2 separate regions of the Homo sapiens genome follow, and region 2 is linked to region 1. Evidence: promoter capture Hi-C in human tissues and cell types (Jung and others, 2019). All regions are on one chromosome and are shown on one strand. Each heading gives the region's core, a stretch centred on a gene start or on the middle of the fragment in contact. The rest is flanking DNA. Distances are from core to core; before and after follow the strand shown.

Region 1 (6,453 bases), core at 2,815-5,314:
GAGTTCAAGACCAGCCTGGTCAACAGAGCTAGATCCCATCTTTACAAAAAAGCTTAAAGATATGAAAAATTAGCCAGGTATGGTGGCATGCACCTGTAGTCTCAGCTACTGGGGAGGATGATGCAGGAGGGTTGCCTGAACCCAGGAGTTTGAGGTTGCAGTGAGCTGTGATTGCACCACTGCACTGGGATAATAGAATGCAGGAACTGGAGGAGATCTGGAAAATGCCTGGGAGTATAAGATGGGAGCCCTGCCTCTGAGGCGTCATAGTACCAGAAGATGCTGAGCCTCTGAGTCCTGATCTGGAAAGTAAATAGTCCCTACCCTCCTAGCTCTCCAGGCCAGAACATTCTATGATGACAGCAGTTTAATACAGTGGCAACTGGACTGTTTAATATAGTGGCAACTGGGCTCTTGAAACGTGGCTATTGTGACTGAGAAATGGAATTTTTAGTCTTACTTAATTTTAATTAAACTCATTAGCCAGGCATGGTGGTGCACACCTGTAATCCCAGCTACTCAGGAAGCTGAGGAATGAGAATCACTTGAGCCCAGGAGGTGGAAGTTGCAGTGAGCAGACATCACACCACTGCACCCCAGCCTGGGCGACAGAGTAAGACTCTGTCTCAAAAAAAAAAAAATTTTAATTAAATTCAAATAGCCATACGTTGCACATGGCTACCATATGGGACAGCATAGCTCTAGGCTGGTGTGACAGGATGGAATGAGCTAAAACGTGTAAAAAACACTCTGGAAATGCTAAAGCCCTATAGGAATGGTAAGAGTTTTGTTGTTTAATGCATTAGAAATCTGAGATCCTGAGAGGTTTCAGTTACCCCACATCACAGACAGACTCAATTCATAAGTGAAAGAAATGTAAACAAACACAGATTTTACTTTACTTGGGGAGAAGGACAGCCCATGCTCTTGTATACCTACGATGGAAATGGAGGTGGTTAGCGATAACCCTTCACGCAACTCAGAGCAACAGGCTTTTTCATCCACATTGCTGCATCCAGATTTGGTAACTCCAGGGCCTACGCACGCAGCAGAAATCAAGGCTGCCAGTGAATCCTGGTAGATTATATTCCTATCTCCCACACTCTCACTCTTAGGGACCATGTGCTTCTTGTCCCTTCCACTGACGTTTGCTATTTCTCCTGCTACAGAAACAGACTTTGCCAACAGCTCCCTGCATTGGGAAACTGCGCTGAGAGTCCCTTTGGGGTTCTGACAGTCAATTCACAGTCTCCTGAATACATATAGTGGTTGTTCAAATTTGCTGATGGGTGGTAAAAGCAACCACTACTGGAAAGGGGTGGGAACTAATCGGAGGCTGTGATGAATGCTAACTTGTTTACACTCCCATTGGAAAATGCACATGAAACCCAAATCAAGTTTTAGTCTCCCAAGATTTTTCCCAGCAGGAAAGGCCTTCCCAGTCTAAACAGCTTTTTGTTACCATTATAATTATATTCTATGCACTAGCAGACAATAAAGAAATGAGCAGGGAAGCAGAAGGAGGCGGGGGGTGAGTTATTAGGACAGGAAAGTCAAGAAATGGTCGAAGTCAGAGGAAACAACACAACACTCTCCAGGACAAATGGCAGGAACTGCCCTGAATATGTAAGAGATTTTGTGAGCTCATTCATTATTCTCCATTAAAGAGTTCGGCTAATTTTCCCCTGTCCTTTCAGTCACATTAAAACTTGGGGCTTAAGCGTTGTGTAACGCTCTGCACAGACTTGGTTTAGGCCCCATGGAGCTTCCATAATGAAAAACAACATGTGCAATTGGATCCACATGCGTTCCGCCCACAGGTTGAGCTCAGTGGTGTATTTTATTCTGTCAGGGAGCTGTTGCTCAACTCCCAAGGAGGGGGGTCCAGCAATAACACTCCAGCTATGAAGACAAAATTAACCAGCCTTGTGCCGGTGTGAGTGACATCACTTCACCAAGAACAGGAACTCAGCTCTCTGTACCTCAAGTTCAGTCTCCCGTCTGTTGATATCATCCGTGGACTGATTTAACTTCTCCAGTTCTCCCTGGTGAAGAAAAGAGGGAGAAAAAAAGACTTAAGGGATCCGTCTTTTGTTTCCAATATAACTCAGTCCATAACCTGAAAAATTACCCCAGCCCAATTTGCAGGAAAAGGGAAGAATCAGAATTAATTCTTACGGCAAACAGTTGAGGCTTGACTAGAAAAGCAAATGAATGTCGGCATTTCTGAAACCATTTTCTTGAGGGTGTCCCTTTTGACAATGTCTTCAGAGACATTTGGAATTTGTCAGAGGTCAACTATTCCAGGTACATGCCTTCAGGTAAACCCCACCTGTTACAAATGGTTTAATGGCCTAATCAAAACAGTACCATCTGCCTTGAGCAAGAACTTTGCTTAGAAAACAATAAAAGACAATAAGCAAGGCCAAGCCAAAAATATAAACCCAGTGAAATCATCAAGGGCAGAATTCTGGTATTAACTCACCAGAATTATTTTTCTGTAAAGGGTGAAAATCTTTTCACACTGCCAATTATTCAACCTACTTAGCTGGACGTTTTAAACTAGCTTTAATCCCATTCCTTTCAATAAACATTTACAAACTGACATTTTGTAAAAAAAGTATCCAACATGAACTTAACTCATCATTACTATGCAAACAAAGGATCTTGCTAACATAATCCCATACCAGTAACACACGATTTATTCCAAACCAATTACTTTAATTAATAGCATTCCTAATGCAAGGATTTTTTTTCCACCTGATCTTTATCTTGCTAAGCTGACAAAACAATTCATTTAAACCCCAACCACTGAGTTAAGTGAGCTTTTAAATTGATCTGTGCACTAAAAAACCAATTAGGTATCCAGAAATTACAGAGCATGCTTAAAAGCAATTTTTTTAAAAAAATGATTTATTGAAAAGGTAGAAAAAAAACGGGCCTTAGAAAGGGATTTGCTCTGCTTTTTGCTTAGGGGTGAAGAGGTGAAACTGTCACTCCTAGATCTCGGCTTGGAAATTGTTTTTTAATCATCTCTCTTGGAAATGGAGGCACAGCCAGCCAGCCCAATCCCCTCGCCGCCTCCACGCGTCAGCTTTGCGCATCAGTTGTCCCCGATTTCTTTTCATGCCCAACCTCACAACAAGGAAAAGCAGGGTTTTAAGCAATTTCAAGCCAGGCAGAACGTTGAGCCAGTGATGACAATAAGCCGCTCAGTTCGCTAACAATCAATCAGAGAAGGAAAACGGCTCAGGCCGGGCACCTTGGCAAGTGAGGACTCTGCACCCGGGGCACCGGTGCCAGCCCGCGCTGCAGGGCAACGCCCACCCGCCCACGGTGCCCGGCGCCCACGCGGGCGACACCTCCTCGCAGAGCCTGGACGCCGTGCCATGCCCGCGGTGCCGCGGCCGGGCAGGGGTACCCCCGAGGATACCATGGCGCCCCCGCCCCCTTTTTCCCTTTGTTGCACATCCACCCGAACCACCAGGCACGCTGCACCGACCCCGATCCTGCTACGGGTCGGCGGGGGACTCCCCGCAATAGAGTCAGGCCGCATCCACGCGGGCACTGTAGCCTCCTCATTGTGGAGACGATGAAACGGAGCATACAGACCGTCTCCTGCCACCCTATGTGGCCGCCAGTCCCCGGACCACAGTTACTGGGGGCTGCGAAGTGGCTGTACGCGTAGACACCGACCTCCGTAGCAGCCCTCGCGAAGCCCGGATGCGGGGCGACCCCGCGCGCCCTACCTGGATCCGGGGATCCACCTCTTCTTCCTCCTCCAGCCCCTGCTCCATCCCCTCTTCCTCCTCCTCCTCCTCGTCCCGGGCAGGCGGCAGGATTTCGGCTGGCTCCTCCGAGCGGCTCCGCTTCAGTGCCGCGTCCATGCAGGCAGCCGGCACGCGCGCCGCGCAGTGGGCTCCGGAGCGCCCCGGGGGTCGCGGCTGCCACAGGCTGGGCTGGAGCCGCCTCGCCACAGCCGGGCACGGTCGGGGAGCCGCCGGGGCCGACACCCGGGAGACGCAGCTCGCCGATGCGGATACCTCCGGCCGCGGCGGAGCAGAGGAAATGGGCGCGGCCGCCCCCTTTCTGCCGCGGCAGTCAGCGCAGCGCCCGCTCCGCCCCCGTCCCGCCCCGGCCTCGCGTTCCGCCGCCAGTCCCAGCTATCCAGGTCTCCGTCGCAAAACCCCAGCTCCCTCCACATCTCCAAGGTGGCAAAATAGGACAGCCCCCACCCCCTTGTAACTTAGCAGCTCGGATATATCTCAACTACGTAACGCAAGCCTCCCGCTTTCGGGAGTCCCCTCCTCCAGCCCTCCTCCGAGGCTCGTTGTTTGTGTGGTAGGGAGGCGTGGGTGTTTTCACACTGAAGTCGCCTTCTGAAGCCTACGCTCAGTGACCCTGGCCCTCAGGACCAAGACTTGCCGAAACCCTATACCCAAAGCACACTCATCCTCTTGAGCGAACCTTGGGAATGGCGGAGGTTCCGTGCACTGATGCATTGCCGAAGGCTGCGGCCTCTCTGGGCGAGCCCCATACCGAAACACAGAGGTGCGGCGGTCCTACCTGAATAGCCAGGAGCATGGAGAATGCATTGAGCTGGGATTTAAGGAGGTGGCAAGTGTAACCCCTGTTGATGGGCACACTCTGGCCAAGAATTTATGAATTAGTGAGACTTTCTGCCCACCATCAACAAGTAGGGAGACAGAGTTGGCCTGGCAGACACAGCATCCGAAAAGGCCAAACTGAAGAGGCACGTGTGTGTGCTTTTATGAAATGTCAGGGCCACTGTGATGTCAGGGGAACGCAAAGGATGACCTTGGCAAAGCAGATGAGCACATGGCTGCTCACGTCTCCTTGCCTTGAGAAATGCAGAACGTGCACATGTCCTACACGGAGGCCTGTAGCCCATCGGCTCTGAGTTTGGAGGACAAATTTGCTTGAGAAAGGAGCTTCTTTCTGAGAACCTATCATCAAAGCCACCTTACAAAACCTGGGTCTGGCACAACGTGGTGGCTCGTATCTGTAATCCCAGCTCTTTGAGATGCCAGGACACAAGGATCACTTGAGGCCAGGAGTTCAACACCAGCCTGGACAATACAGCCAGACCCCTTCTCAAATGAATAAATAGTCCTGCTCCTGGTGGTTTTATCAGAAACTAGGCTAGAGGGTTACTCCTTGGGCAAGGCACCACCCCATACACGCTGGCACTGTAGTCCACTGTCAAAGGAAATTTGTCCTGTCTCCTGGAGGTAGTGCCATGGTTTGTTTCTAAAAAGGTCAGACCTGTTCATTGCTCTTTAAATCAAGGATGAGTCAGCAATTCTGTGAGAGGTGCTTCAAAGCTCCTTGCTAAAGACATAGTTGCTTTTGGTTTTCCAATGATAGATGAAGCCAGGAACAAGATAGCCATAGGGGTCACTTTGGAACACAGGAGCCACCAACCTTCTCTGGTGGCTTGGAATTGAGCCTCCAACTTTGCAGGTACATCCTAGCTCTGAATGAACTGAGAGACAGAGTTTGAAATAAACAGAACTCTGGGGTCAGCCCTGACTATGATAAATGCTTCTCAGCTAGCAGAACCCTATCCTCTCCATTCTAAATGGCAAACTCCAAACTACATTCCTGCTTAAGCTTAGGTCAAGAGCAAAATACATCTATGAGACATAGGCCAACTGCTCAAGAACATCAGTTCAGACTTTTGTTGTCTTATTTTTTGGAGATCTGGGCCAGCTATAGTGTTAATCCTAATAGTCTTTCTAAAGATAAAATGAGAAAAATAAATAAACCACAGGCAGTACTATATACAGTCAACCCTCCATAGCCTCTCAGGTTCCACATGTGTAAATTCAACTAACCACAGATAGAAAATATTTGGGGGAAAAAAACACAACAATTAAAAAAATGCATATTTAAAAATACATGGCCAGGAGTGGTGGCTAACACCTGTAATCCTAGCATTTTGGGAGGCTGAGGCAAGGAGGATCACTGGAGGCCGGGAGTTCCAGACCAGCCTGGGCAACAAAGCGAGACTGCCTTGCTCTCTAGAAAAAAAAAAAATACAGTATATGACAACTATGTACATATTTGCATTGTATTAGGTATTGCAGGTAAGAAATCTAGAGCTGACTTAAAGTATACAGGAGGGGCTGCTCATGGTGGTTCATGCCTGTAATCTCAATACTTTGGAAAGCCAAGGTGGGTGGGTTGCTTGAGCTCAGGAGTTCAAGACCAGCCTGGACAACATGGTGAAACACCATCTCTACAAAAAATACAAAAAATTCGCCAAGTGTGGTGGCTCATGCCTGTAGTCACAGCTATTTGGGAGGCTGAGATGGGAAGATTGCTTAAGCCCAGGAGGTAGAGGTTGCAGTGAGCTGAGATTGCACCACTGCCCCCCAGCTTAGGTGACAGCAAGACCCTGTCTCAAAATAAATATATATATATAAATAA
Region 2 (6,390 bases), core at 3,093-5,592, 130 kb before region 1:
TATCAATGGAACATATCTCAAAATAATAAGAGCTATTTTTGACAAACCCACAACCAATATCATACTGAATGAGCAAAAGCTAGAAGCATTCCCTTTGAAAACCAGCACAAGACAAGGATGTCCTCTCTCACCACTCCTATTCAACATAGTATTGGAAGTTCTGGCCAGGGCAATCAGGCAAAATAAAGAACTAAAGGGTATTCAAATAGGAAGAGAGAAAGTCAAATTGTCTCTGTTTGCAGATGACATGATTGTATATTTAGAAAACCCCATCGTCTCAGCCCAAAAACTCCTTAAGCAGATAAGCAACTTCAGCAAATTCTCAGGATACAAAATAAATGTGCAAAACTCACAAGCATTCCTATACACCAATAATAGACAAACAGAGGCAAATCATGAGTGAACTCTCACTCACAATTACTACAAAGAGAATAATATACCTAGGAATACAACTTACAGGGGATATGAAGGACCTCTTCACGGAGAACTACAAACCACTGCTCAAGGAAATAAGAGAGGACACAAACAAACAGAAAAACAGTCCATGCTCATGGATAGGAAGACTCAATATCGTGAAAATGGCCATACTGCCCAAAGTAATATATAGATTCAATGCTATTCCCATCAAGCTACCATTGACTTTCTTCACAGAATTAGAAAAAACTACTTTAAATTTCATATGGAACCAAAAAAGAGCCCATATAGCCAAGACAATCCTAAGCAAAACGAAGAAAGTTGGAGGCATCATGCTACCTGACTTCAAACTATACTACAAGGCTACAGTAACCAAACAGCATGGTACTGGTACCAAAACAGATATATAGACCAATGGAACAGAACAGAGTCCTCAGAAATAACGCCACACATCCACAACCACCTGATCTTTGACAAACCTAACAAAAACAGCCAATGGGGAAAGGATTCCCTATTTAATAAATGGTGCTGGGAAAACTGGCTAGCCATATGTAGAAAGCTGAAACTGGATCCCTTCCTTTCACCTTACACAAAAATTAACTCAAGATGGATTAAAGACTTAAACATAAGACCTAAAACCACGAAAACCCTAGAAGAAAACCTAGGCAATGCCATTCAGGACATAGGCATGGGCAAAGACTTCATAACTAAAACACCAAAAGCAAGGGCAACAAAACCCAAAATTGACAAGTAGGACCTAATTAAACTAAAGAGCTCCTGCACAGCAAAAGAAACTATCATCAAAATGAATAGGCAACATACAGAATGGAAGAAAATTTTTGCAATCTATCCATCTGAAAAAGAGCTACTATCCAGAATCTACAAGGAACTTAAACACATTTACATGAAAAAAAAACCCATTAAAAAGTAGGCAAAGGATATGAAAAGATACTTCTCAAAAGAAGACATTTATGTGGCCAAGAAACTATGAAAAAAAGCTTATCATCACTGGTCATTAGAGAATGCAAATCAAAACCACAATGAGATACCACCTCATGCCAGTTAGAATGGCGATCCTTAAAAAGTCAGGAAACAACAGATGCTGGAGAGGATGTGGAGAAATAAGGATGCTTTTACACTGTTGGTGGGAGTGTAAATTACTTCAACCACTGTGGAAGACAGTGTGACAATTCCTCAAGTATCTAGAACCAGAAATACCATTTGACCCAGCAATCCCATTACTGGGTATATACCCAAAGGATTATAAATCATTCTACTATGAAGACACATGCACATGTATGTTTATTGCAGCACAATTCATAATAGCAAAGACTTGGAACCAACCCAAATGACCATTAATGATAGATTGGATAAAGAAACTGTGGCACATATACCCTATGGAATATTATGCAGCCATAAAAAGAATGAGTTCATGTCCTTTGCAAGGACATGGATGAAGCTGGAAACCATAATTCTCAGCAAACTAACACAGGAACAGAAAACCAAACACTGCATGTTCTCATTCATAAGGTGGAGTTGAATAATGTGAATACATGGACACAGGGTGGGGAACATCATACACCAGGGCCTGTTGCGGGGTGGGGGGCTAGGGGAAGGAGAGCATTAGGAGAAATACCTAATGTAGACGACGGGTTGATGGGTACACCCAACCACCATGGCACATGTATACCTATGTAGCAAACCTGCACATTCTGCACATGTATATCCCAGAACTTAAAGTATAATAAAATAAATAAATAAATAAATAAATAAATAATAAAAACACAAAAAATCATAATGGATGGTTACTCTGCTCACTACCTAGGTCCAATGTACCCATGTAACAATCCTATACATGCATCCCTTGTATCTGAAATAAAAGCTGAAAACTTTTTTAAAAGTACACATACAAAAATTTTAAAAAGCTTAAGAACAACAACAATGAAAAAAAAAAACCATAACGTGGAAATTCTGGATTGCATTCAGAGACTGTGTAGATGGAATGGAAGTCTGAGCTGGTGGAACTGCTCTCAAGACAGGCGTAGTTTTATTTTGAGCTGAAAAGGTTCCGGCTTGAGTAGTAGCCATCCTGTTGATGTTTTAAATTCTACTCATACTAATATGGTTCCCTGTGCCTGGGAAAAACTGTGTATAAACCAACACAATTTCCACTTGTTGTGTAATAGGAATATCTGCTACAGCAAAATTTCTTTTGAAAAGGGAGAAAACAATCTTATTTTCTATTTCTACTGAATAAACCAGCTTGCAATCATCTGAAAAGAATAAACTTCCTTAATTTGATGCCATTATACATTTAACCTTTGGGAATTTGTGAAGTGGAAGCACTTTCAAGTTCCTGCTCTGGAAGAGGACTGTGAATACTATTTTAGCCATCAGCCACGTAGAAGCTGTAACTACTAAAACAATGCAAATTATGTCATCCAGTCCAAGGTGTCTAGATGATAAGAGCAAGGTACAAGTGAGTGGCATTTTATGATTTAGCCTCATAAGTTAGATGGTAGCACTTCCACTATACACTATTAGTCAAGGCAGTCACAAAGTTATGTCCAGGATGCATGGTAGGGGACAAAGATCCTACCGCTTAAAAGAAGGGACATGAAGATACCCTTGTAAGGAGATCACGTGGGATGTAAGATAAAGCTTTTGGCCTATTTGTAAAATACAGTCTGCCACAGTTTGCTTTCTGGCCATATTTCTCATGCCTCCCACATGCAAAATACATTCAAATCACACCCCTAGAATTCTCAAGTCTCAAACTATTAAAACATCAGCTTGAAGTCCAGGAGCTTGTCATCTAAATCAGGTTCAGGTGAAGATGAGATGCCTTGGTGTGGTTCATTTGGGTGCAGCTCCTTAAATATCACTCCTTTTGATTAGAGCTCTGTTAAAGAGACAATCTGCACCCCCCCCCCCGCCCACACACACACCCAACGCACAGTGATAAGAGGCATAAGATGATCCCTATAGGAAAATCCTACTCGAAAGGGAGGAAGAGGCAAGCACACTGCAATAATCTAGAAAAATTCTGAAATGCAGTTTGGTATATGCTTCCAGTTCCTTATCAAGATTCAGTCCTACTGTCTGGGAGTTCTCTGTGAATTTCAAATTCCAAAACACATCTGGCTTAAGGGTGCAGTAAAGGATTGTGAAGCTGCACTCAGAGACTATAAGAAAAAGATGTGATAAACACTCCCATTGCCTATCAATGACTGAGCTCTTCAGAGGATGCTGTTGTTGCTTCTGTTTCCCAAGATGATCAGAGTTCAGGAAGTGGAATTCCAAGCAGCTCAGAGGTAAATGAGATAAGGGTTAAATGGTTCTGTAACCATTTCTTCTGCCCCTGCACTGACAGATTATCCCAAAAGAACACAGTCATGAAGAGTAAAGAGCACAGTCAAGTGTTGCAGGACATAACTTTGTCAAATACTTCATATGTGCCAGGTGTTGTGCTAAAGGCTTTACTGGCATTATCTCATTCAATCCTTCTAAAACTTTATGAGGTAGTTACTAATCTACCTATTTTACAGATGAGAAAAATTGAGGCTTAGAGATATTAATCAGTGTGCTGAAGGTTTGCAAAGTTAGAAAATGGTAACAAAATTGTGAAATGACTTTCTCCATCAATTTGCTTGTTTTCGTCATTAGAGTGGACATGAAAAAAATTTAATCTCTACATCAGCAGTCCCCAACCTTTTTGGTGTCAGGGACCAGTTCCATGAAAGACCATTTTTCCACAGACTGCGGGGATGGGGAGGGGATGATTCGAGCACACTACATTTATTGTGCACTTTGTTACTACTATTATTACATTGTAATATATGATGAAATAATTACACAATTCACATAATGCAGAATATGTGGGAGCCCTGAGCTTGTTTTCCTGCAACTAGATGGTCCCATCTGGGGGTGATGGAAGACAGTGACACCTGAAATGTGTTGCTTATGTCCAGTCTACTCCATAATCTCATTATGGTTTCTCTCACTACAAAAAACCCTGCTTCATAAAGATAGGATGTTAGAAATGGAAGCAGGCTTTTCAGTGCTTTTGTGGCAATCTCAGGCTACCACTTTGACTTTAGTCCAGAACATACGAAGATTTGAAGTTGTCTCAAACATACTTTTAAGGCCACCATCATTTGCAATCTCAAGCAGTTGATCCTCTTCTAGCACAAAGTTGATTTACCTGGCTTATTCACAAATGGGTTGCAGATCCATTCCTTCCTAGTTTGGGGGTCTTTTGTGGTTGGGAAGTAATGCTCAAACTCTTTTGAAAACTGAGATGGGTGATCATGCACCGGCTGGAAGAAAGAAGGCCCTGGCTCAGTCTCTTTCAAAATCTCTGCTAATGTTTGAAACATGTCAAAAATCCCAGTGTTCCCTTGTCACCCCCATAACTCCAGCTTGGCTTTGAATGCAGCCACTTTATCTGCTGACTTGAACACAGTTGTTGTTCTCCTCTGAAGTGATAGATTGAGTTCATTGAGCAGGTTGAATATGTCACACAAGGAAGCAAGTTTTGAGACCCATTCTGTGTCACTGAAATGTGCTGCCAATGGTGACTGTTTTTCTAAAAGAAATCTCTGGAGGCTCATAACTCAGAAACTCTGGCCAGTGATCTACCTTTAGAAAGCCACCTCACTTCTGTGTATAAGAGAAGACACGTGTGCTCTGCGTCCATCTTCTCACAGAGCTGCGTGAACAGATGTTAGTTAAGGGTATGTACTTTAATGTGGTTGGTAATTTTAATCACATCCTGCAAAACGTTAAGTTCAGGTGACATTTTTCAGCTAACCAGCATTTTTCTATGGATGACACACTGCATAGACTCACATTCACAAGCGACCTCTTTGACCCAAGCAGTGAAACCAGAAAGCCATCTAGTCATGGCAGCCACTATGTCCTTGCATAAACTGACACAAAATGATCAATTCAGTTTCCAGACATGTAATCATTCAAAGACTTAAATAGTTCTGCAGCTGTGGTATTGGTTGGCAACAAAAGTACCCAAAACATACCCTTATGCACATCCTCTTGAAAAATATGTCACACAAAAACAAATATTGTTGCCTTGTTGTCAACATCAGTAGACTTGTCAACCTGGATTGTGTACTCCAGTGACTCATTAATCCTCTCTAACAATTGTGCCTCAATATCCTCTGCTATTTCATCGATGCCTCTAGTTACGGTACCAACCAAAAGAGGAACACGTGCCAGCTTTTGAACTGCAGCCCCTCCTAAAAGTTCATGACAAATGTCCTCAGCAGCAGGCAGGATCAGCTCTTTTTCAACAGTAAAGGGCTTCTTAGCTTTAGCAATGTGGTTAGCCACTAAGAATGATGCTCTCAGTGCAGACACATTTGATGAAGTGGTGGCCTTCAGTAATTGCTTCTGTTCTTCATGCTCACTTTTTTTCTTTGGGAAAACTCCAAAGACTTGTGTTTTAATGCAGGGTGCTTGGTCTCCACATGGCAAAGCAGTTTTGAAGGTTTTATGTCTTCATTGGATAGCCGGTTGCCACACATTATACAACGTGGGCTTGGAGAACGTGAATCACCTGTTGCAATGAACCCATAATTTAAGTAGGACTCTTGGTATTTTTTTAATGCAGCTTTCTTTCTGTTGGCAGTCGTAGAGTCTTCTGCTGTGTCATCATTGGGTCTTTCCCCTTTTCAAATAAGTTTTCCAGTGACAACTGATTTTTACTCATTTGGGTTTGGGTTAGCTTGTGGGCTTACCAAAACTGACTGAGACAAGTGGGTAGCGTGGGAAAGAGGACTGCAGGCCACGCACTCCACGTGAGGACTAAAATAAGTGTTGGATTCTAACTTCAAGCCTGCCACCAGATGCAGCTGTACAATTGAAGTACATCAACTCAGTTACCACTATAAAGCCTACCACCAGATGCAGCTTCATTGTCACTTGCCGCTCACTGATAGGGTTTTGATATGAGATCAC

Evidence for each region. Contacts are between HindIII fragments. The study calls those that stand out against the background at their distance.
Region 2: a fragment that was not itself captured here is called in contact with the fragment with the promoter of SH3BP5 in region 1 in 1 of the 25 tissues and cell types used here (liver).

Annotation. Positions count from the first base shown.
Region 1 is chr3:15,328,522-15,334,974 of GRCh38, forward strand. It overlaps SH3BP5 (SH3 domain binding protein 5), which reads right to left and starts at 4,065. Exons shown (of 9, transcript NM_004844.5): 1 at 3,750-4,065; 2 at 1,983-2,045. The coding sequence starts at 3,887. RefSeq lists silencers at 3,634-3,693, 3,774-4,173. The HindIII fragment of the contact is 12,246 bases long and covers 2,844-6,453 here.
Region 2 is chr3:15,193,572-15,199,961 of GRCh38, forward strand. It overlaps the pseudogene COL6A4P1. Among named protein-coding and RNA genes, the nearest start is that of CAPN7, 9.5 kb to the right of the region's middle. The HindIII fragment of the contact is 4,934 bases long and covers 1,876-6,390 here.